2 separate regions of the Homo sapiens genome follow, and region 2 is linked to region 1. The links are contacts of gene promoters, found by promoter capture Hi-C in blood cells and fetal thymus (Javierre and others, 2016). All regions are on one chromosome and are shown on one strand. Each heading gives the region's core, a stretch centred on a gene start or on the middle of the fragment in contact. The rest is flanking DNA. Distances are from core to core; before and after follow the strand shown. Region 1 holds the start of ATP2A1-AS1 (ATP2A1 antisense RNA 1). Region 2 overlaps SEZ6L2 (seizure related 6 homolog like 2).

Region 1 (4,005 bases), core at 587-3,086:
AATCTTGGCTCACTGCAACCTCCGCCTCCCCATTCAAGTGATTCTCCTGCCTCAGCCTCCTGAGTAGCTGGGATTACAGGCACCTGCCACCATGCCCAGCTAATTTTTTTGTATTTTTAGTAGAGATGGGGTTTTACCATGTTGGCCAGGCTACTCTTGAACTCCTGACCTCAACTGATCCACCCGCCTCGGCCTCCCAAAGTATGAAAGTGGCTATTTCTATCCTCAGTGTTCAGAAACCAGTGAGCACCAAAAAATGGCTTATAGCCTGACATTTCTTAAAACCAAAGCAAGGTAGCATTTGGGTTTTCACTTTGGAAATGACCTAAAAACAAAACAAAACAAAACAAACCAGGAAGCAGAGGACAGGACATGTAGGGGGTGGTCAGGTCAGTGGAAGAAGGAAATCAAGCTAGCGTCTATTGAATTCCTACTGTGTGCCAGGAACATGCATCATCTTAGTCGATTTCACACTGGATTGCTAGCCCCATTTTATGGATGAAGAAACTGAGGCTCAGAGGGATGAAGGAACTTGCTCAGGGTCACATAGCCAGGAAGTGACAGTGGGTCACAGTCTCCCACCTCTTCCCCACACTCCATCCCATTCCAGACCAGGGGATAGGACCAGAGGAAGAGGCAAGTATGGGGGAGGTGATGGAGGAGGAGGAGACTGGAGGGAGGGTTGGCCTCTTCTTCACTGTTGGGACATGAAGGGGTAAGGAAGGGTCAACGCTAACCTGCCAAACCCCCACGATGGCATTGGCAATGAGGATCAAGAGGATGACAAAGGGTTCAACAAAGGCAGTGATGGTCTCTTCACCTTCCTCAAACCAGGCCAGCACCTGGGGAGCAGGGGAAAGGAGAATGACAGGTAATGAGGCCCCAAAACAGATGGAGAAAGGAAGTGGACCACTGCAAAGGGGAGAACTGTGCAGGAGAGTGCAGGAGCCAGCAGGAGGGCCGGGCACCGTCGGGGCGCTGTGGCCCCACATCCGTCTGAGGGTCTGTCCATCCACTGCAGGTCCTGCCACCGCCTTACTCAGCGGGATGGGCGCGCACAGACTTGCACCACTTGGGGGATTAGCTGGGAATGCTTTCAGGTTTCCCTGACCAAGCTGCTGGCTTAGAAGCGAAGCTCAGGCCAACCCCCCGCACAGCCACATCCATCCCACGGGAGCCAAAACCCGAGAGGAAAAACCCTGTGGTCTTCGCAGGCGGTCTGGCCCCCGCAGCCCTCCCCCTCGGCCAAGGCAGGGAAGCTCCGGTTTCACGAGGGAGCCGGAGCGGGGATAGGGTTACGGGGCCTCCTGCGCGCGCCCCGCCCCAGCTGTTGCCACCGCCAGGCAGCAGGCAAATGTCAAGGAGCAAATCTGAGAAGGGAGAGGAGAGGCCCTGCCAGCTTGTGCTTAACGCGACGGGGCCTGCGTTCGGAGACCAAGGCACAGGGAGGCTTTCGTTGCCTCCAGAGTCCCCAGCGAGGCTCACATGCTGCGGAAGAACCCGCGACATGCAGATGGACCGCGGGATGGGGAGTAGCCCCCAGGGCGGGAGAGGAGGCAGAGCCCTGGAGATGCCCTGCGGGGGTGGGGGTGCCTAGGGAGCGCGGGGAAGGGCTAAGGCCAGGCTGGGCGGGTAATGAGGGATGCCAGTGCCCTCCCTGACCGGGCGCCGGGCTCCTTGGAGTCATCATCACACCGCCGCGCTTTCCCGCCACTAGGAGCGAGTCCTCCCCTCGACCAATCAGCGTCAGGAGGCTGGGGAGGGCGGGGCAGGGGCGCCGACGGGCGCGGGGATTGGTGGAGCGGCCGTCCGCCCGGCGCATGCCGGGAGTGGCAGTGGCCCCCCGCGCCGCAGCCGGCATCGCGGCGGGACCCGGAGCCCGGAGTTCGGGTGGGTAACCCGAGCTCTCCAAGCTCTTGAAGCCGCGAGGGTGGCTTAGCTTCGGTGTTTTGGCTGAGAACACCCTTAAAGCTTAAAATAAAACCTGCCTCTGGGGTGCAGGGGAGGAGAGAGGAGGACGCGAATCACACCCGCTGCTGCGCGCCAGCCCGCCCCGTCTGTACAATGGGATGCTCGGGACTCGGACGGGAGGATCCAGTGACTGCGAGCCCCGCATTCGCCCGATCCCAGCCTCACACCCCCAGCCAGCCCCCAGAGACCCTCCCACACTTACGAAGGAAATGCATGCGGCCAGGAGGAGAATCCGCACCAGGAGGTCTTCAAACTGCTCTATCACCAGCTCCCACAGGGTCTTCCCTGGGGGAGGAGGCAAGGGGAGGGCCCCGGGTTAAGGTCTAGTGGGTGAAGGTCTGGGATGGAGCGCCCTGGACTCCGGCCTGCAGTGGGGAGGCTCTAGGGTGGTGGGCAGACAGCTTGGTGCCCAGAGAAGGGCTAAGAAGCTCGCCTGGAGTCCAGAAACAGACTCGGCAAAGTGGGGGGCAGTTCAAGGGTTGGCTGCTTCAAGGAGAAAGCGCCTGGGAGACTTCTGCCCCGGACAGGACTCTAACCTTTAGGGAGGGAGATTTGCCTTTTGGGAAGGGATATTTGCTCAAAGAATCTAAAGAGGCAGGGAGGAGGGAGTGGGACAGGGCGGGGTGGGGGGTGGTCATTTATGAGAGTTCAGGGATTCCAGTAACTTACCTTCCTCAGCAGGGAGCTCTACCCAGGAAAAAGAAGAAAAGGACAGATTCATTTGGGGTTCAGCCTCATGCCCCCCACACCCAAGACTTTGTGGCTAAGAGAATCAGGCCACCTTGAGGTTCATCAAGTTCATCCCATTAAAACCTCCCAAAACTCTGGATCTCGGGACTCTGTTTTCTCAGTATCTTCTTCCCCCTGCGAGCATTGGACAACGGCCCAGCTCTTCCTTAAGAAACCCTGAAGGGAGAAACGCGTGCATGCGTGTGCGTGTGTTTTGGGGGTGCAGGAGGGCATTAATTACCAGCCGCTCTTCCAAGGGACACTTACCATTGAGGCCGTATTTCTCCAGATTCCGCTTAACTTGGTCCGGGGTGAGGCCCGTGGTCTCACTCACCCCAAAATAGGCCAAACATTCCTCCGTGGTTTTAGCATGAGCGGCCTCCATTGTGCTCCCTTCCTGGGGGCCGGGGCCGGTGTGTTCCTTCCAGGGGGTTCCCACTCGTGGGGGGTCTTCCTCAGTGTGTCCAACTGCCTGTCTGCCTGGGTTTCTTCTTTTTACTCTCCTGCCCCCTCCAGGTTTTTCTTCCCTCCACAAAGCTCTGACCCCCGTCCCACTTGAGCAGCCGGCCACCCCCCGGCCCCCAGCTGGTCCTTATGAGGGAGCAGGGGGAGGCCGGGCTCCCCCCTCCACCAGATCAGGGATTGGCTGGCTGAGACTCCAGCAGGAGGTGGTCAGAAAAGAGAGATATTTCTGCTGACAGAGGGGGAACAGTGGGGCTGCAGCCTGAGATGTCACTCATGAGGGACGCAAAGGTAGCCCCAGCCCCAGGGAAGTGGGGTAGGGAGAGACTTCACTTTCTGTCATCTGCTACTGACCCTGCCCCCCCATTGCCTCGACTTCCCCAGCTGCATTGAATTTCCCATTCCAAACTCATCCCCCCAGTTCTTCCCGGAGCCCTCTTCCATCCCCGGCCTCACCTGTCCCTTTCCTCACACCCCCCTTCCTGCCTCATCTGCCCGGAGCCTGTTTCCATTGCCGCAGTCTCCTTCCTCCTCACCCCATTTGCTGAAGCAGTGGCAGAGATACCCCAAGCCTTTGGGGGACTGATGAAGGGAGAACATCTTTTGGGGGCTAGAGGAAGTGAGTGGCTCCTAGAGGGACAAGGGGAAGTGAGGGGAGAGAGTCAAGGGGACAGGGCCGAAGATGGTAACCCTACCCTAGGGAGGGGTTGCCACAGCCATCAACAAGGGATTTAGTGTCCAGGCCCTGGTGAGCAAAGCCAGCACTGCCTGTCTCTCCCCAAAACTGCCCCCCCCCTTCCCCATCGCTCTAACTCAGCCTCTGGGAACAGAGCCCTGAGGGCC
Region 2 (3,829 bases), core at 246-2,745, 1.0 Mb before region 1:
CCAGGCAACCTCGGACAAATAAATAGGGCAATGCAGCCTTCCTTAGGGGCCACTGTGAACAAGGGGCTCTGGCCTGGTGCCTCTCACTCTTTGGAGGTTTCTGAGGCTTCCCCTGGAGCTATTTCCACGGACACAGACCCAAACTGTTGCGTTAACACCAGCAAGTTGGGGAGGTCTGGGGAGAATCCAGTGAGCTGAATTGGTATGAGAGTGTCATGAGATGGCACAGAAGCTGAAGTGGGCGTGGCTTCAAAGCAGGTACTCAGGCGGGGCCTAGAGTTGTGTAGGGCGTTAGCGAATTTGGTCTGTGATTGGCCAGAGCTGGAGTTGGGCTAGGCTGTGGATCTCATGGTGATGGAGGAGGGAGTGGACAGTGGGCGGAGTTAGTAATGTGCAAGCTTAGGGATTGGGTAGTAGGACATGGGAGGAGCCATAGAATAGGGGAACCCTGAGGCACTAGCATAGGAGAAACCATGGTTGGTCAAAACGGAGGCGGCGCCAGACCTGGGATAGGAGAATATGGGCGGGGCTGGAGAGTAGGAGGGGCTACCAATGAGCAGAGTTGAGGATGGGGCAGAGCTGGATGGGAGGGGCCAGTCGCAGCCCCGCCCCATTGCCTGGTCTCACCCCCTGCAGATTGAATGTGCGGGAAGGGGACATGCTGACGCTGTTCGACGGGGACGGTCCCAGCGCCCGAGTCTTGGCCCAGCTGCGGGGACCTCAGCCGCGCCGCCGCCTTCTCTCCTCTGGGCCCGACCTCACACTGCAGTTTCAGGCACCGCCCGGGCCCCCAAATCCAGGCCTGGGCCAGGGCTTCGTATTGCACTTCAAAGGTACTGAGGGATAGAGTCCCGGGATGGGCAGGGGTCGGGCAGGCCAGAGATCCCGGGAGGTGGCCGGTCGTGGTGGCTCACGCCTGTTATCCCGGGGCCTTGGGAGGCCGAGGCGGGAGGATCGTTTGAAGCCAGGAGGTTGAGGCTGCAGTGAGCTATGCTTGTACCACTGTACTCCAGCCTGGGCGACAGGAAACCCTGTCTCTAAGAGAGAGAGAGAGAGACAGATCCCGGGAGGGGGCACAGAGCAAAGCCTCCGAGGCTGGAAGGGAGCCCGCAGTTAAAACGCAGCCTCCAAACTCGCCTTCCCTCCCCTGCAGAGGTCCCGAGGAACGACACGTGCCCCGAGCTGCCACCTCCGGAGTGGGGCTGGAGAACGGCATCCCACGGGGACCTGATCCGGGGCACGGTGCTCACCTACCAGTGCGAGCCTGGCTACGAGCTGCTAGGCTCCGACATTCTCACTTGCCAGTGGGACCTGTCTTGGAGCGCCGCGCCGCCCGCCTGCCAAAAGAGTGAGCCGGCCCCGCCCGCGTCCCCTCGGCCCCGCCCCTTCCCTGTGGGCCCCGTCGTCGGCCTGTCCTGTCCCGACCCCCGTGCTTTCTGGGTTCCATCCCTTCGCTCGGGGTCCTTCCTGGATCTTCTTCAAGGCCTGCCCCCATGCCCTTTAGTTCTCACTCCTCCGCCCGGTTCCCCGAAACTGTCCCCTCTGGGTCTCCCTCTCATCTTCTCCGGGCTGCATCCCTCTTTCTTGCACCGACCTGGGCTCGGTCCCTGTTTCCTCGTCTCACGGCCCCGCCCCGTCCCCTCCTGACCCCTCCTCTGCGGCATCTGAGTTTGGCCCCTAAAAGGGCTCCGACCAGGTTCCCACTGGGCTCCCCGGGTCCACACTTGGCTCCACCTTCCTGTCCTACGCCCCGCCCCAATCCCGCAGTCCTATCAGTTGAAATTGTAGGGAGCCACTTTGCTAGGACCAAGGCTTGTCAGAGCACTTGGTTTATTTGAATGCCATCATTGAAGCCCCGTGCTGGGTTGGGGTTAGGCGAAGGGGGTTCAAGCCCCTCCATACTCTTATGGAGCTCGCAGTCTGGGAGGGATACGCAGGGTGGTGATCACTGGGTGACTTTGGGCGAGGCACTTAGCATTTCTGAGGCTTGGTTTCCCCATCGGCGAAGTAGGACTGAGGTTGTGAAGAGCAGATGGAAAGTTCACAGGGCGCATGCTGCCCTGGGCGTGGCGAAGTGCTGTGGGGAGAGCAGTGGGCTAATTTTCTCAGGGCTGGGGCAGGAGATTTCACAGAGGAGGTGACATTTAAAGGAGCTGGGAGTGTGTATCTTTTAGAAGAGCAGAAAGGGCCAGGTGCGGTGGATCACCTGAGGTCTGGAGTTCGAGACCAGCCTGGCCAACATGGTGAAACCCCGTCTCTACTAAAAATAAAAAACTATCTGGGCATGGTGGCATACGCCTGTAATCCCAGATACTCAGGAGGCTGAGGAAGGAGAATCGCTTGAACCTGGGAGGTGGAGGTTGCAGTAAGCTGAGATTGTGCCATTGCATTCCATCCTGCGCCACGGGAGTGATACTCCATCTCAAAAAAAAAAAAAAGAAAGAAAGAAAGAAAGAAAAAGAAAATTGAAGAGCAGAAAGGAATGGCAGCTGGTTACTTTCTCCAAATTTTAGGAAGCCAGCCCCAAGGACATGGGGCTGTAGTTCCATGTGGCATCTGGAAGCAATGGTGGGACCAAGGGGAGAAGCTTCAGGTAGCCAGATTTGGGCTGGACAAAGCTTCCCGCCCCTGGAAGGATTCACAGGATATCAGGCCTGGATGGGGCTGAGAGTTCGGCTGGCCCCGCTGCCTCGGGCTCAGGAGGGAACCTGCCCAAGGCAGCAGATTGAGCCTGAAGGTGTGCCAGGACCCACATATCTGAGTCCCTGTCCAGTGCTCCATGGCTGTGACCCTGGGCAGATTCCGGCTCTGCCACTCCCTGGCTGAATGACCATGGGCCAAGTCCTTTGACCGCCCTGAGCCCTGGGCTCCAAGGGAGATGACAGTGACATTGGCCTCTCAGGATAATCAGGATTAAATATTATGTTTGTGCCAGGTGTGGTGGCTCACATCTGAAATTGCAGTGCTTTGGAAGGCCAAGGTGGGAGGATCACTTGAGCCCAGGAGATTGAGAACAGCCTGGGCAACATAGTGAGACCCTGTCTCTACAAATAATAAAAAATATAGCCAGGCATGGTGGTATATGCCTGTAGTCCCAGCTACTCAGAAGGCTGTGGTGCGAGAATTGCTTAAGCCCAGGAGTTTGAGGCTGCAGTGAGCCGTGATCTCACCACTGCATTCCAGCTTGAGTGACAGAGCAAGTTCTCGTCTCCAAAACAAAGAATTATATTTGGGGCCAGCCGTGGTGGCTCACACCTGTAATCCCAGCACTGGTGGAGGCTGAGGTGGGTGGATCACCTGAGGTCAGGAGTTCGAGACCAGCCTGGCCAACATGGCGAAACCCTGTCTATACTAAAAATACAAAAATTAGCTGGGCATGGTAGCGAATGCCTGTAATCGCAGCTACTCGGGAGGCTGAGGCAGGAGAATCTCTTGAGTCCAGAAGGCAGAGGTTGCAGTGAGCCGAGATGCGCCACTGCACTCCAGCCTGGGCGACAGAGCGAGACTCCCATCTCAAAAAAAAAAAAAAAAAAAAAAAAAAAAAAAAAAAAAACAAGCACACACACAAAGAATTATATTTGTTTGTAAAACATTTAGCAGGGTACGTAGCTCAGGCTTATATACAAGAAATGGCTATGATTATGATTCCTTCACAACAGGGTTGTAAACTCAAACGCCTGAAGGCAGGGAGTGTATGTGAGTGAACTGGGCTGGGCATAATGAGAATACTGGGGACAGGAGAGCTGGGCCCCCTCTAAAGAGGGCAGCTGCTGTTCCACAGACTACAAGCCATGTTGGGCTCACCCTGCTGGGATTTGGCTAGTATGCT

The links. The method cuts DNA at HindIII sites, captures the fragments that hold promoters and counts their contacts. A CHiCAGO score of 5 or more calls a contact.
Region 2: a contact is called between a fragment that was not itself captured here and the fragment with the promoter of ATP2A1-AS1 in region 1, in 1 of 17 cell types (non-activated CD4 T cells). The highest score is 5.5, in non-activated CD4 T cells.

What each region holds. Positions count from the first base shown.
Region 1 is chr16:28,877,752-28,881,756 of GRCh38, reverse strand. ATP2A1-AS1 (ATP2A1 antisense RNA 1) reads left to right here and starts at 1,836. Exons shown (of 2, transcript NR_046290.1): 1 at 1,836-2,215; 2 at 2,653-2,800. ATP2A1 (ATPase sarcoplasmic/endoplasmic reticulum Ca2+ transporting 1) reads right to left here and starts at 3,269. Exons shown (of 23, transcript NM_004320.6): 1 at 2,968-3,269; 2 at 2,641-2,658; 3 at 2,174-2,256; 4 at 738-842. The coding sequence starts at 3,085. RefSeq lists silencers at 1,620-1,969, 1,990-2,039 and an enhancer at 2,110-2,883. The HindIII fragment of the contact is 3,157 bases long and covers 1-1,973 here.
Region 2 is chr16:29,874,275-29,878,103 of GRCh38, reverse strand. It overlaps SEZ6L2 (seizure related 6 homolog like 2), which reads left to right. Exons shown (of 18, transcript NM_001243332.2): 11 at 637-833; 12 at 1,154-1,348. Among named protein-coding and RNA genes, the nearest start is that of CDIPT, 13 kb to the right of the region's middle. RefSeq lists an enhancer at 1-418. The HindIII fragment of the contact is 2,189 bases long and covers 401-2,589 here.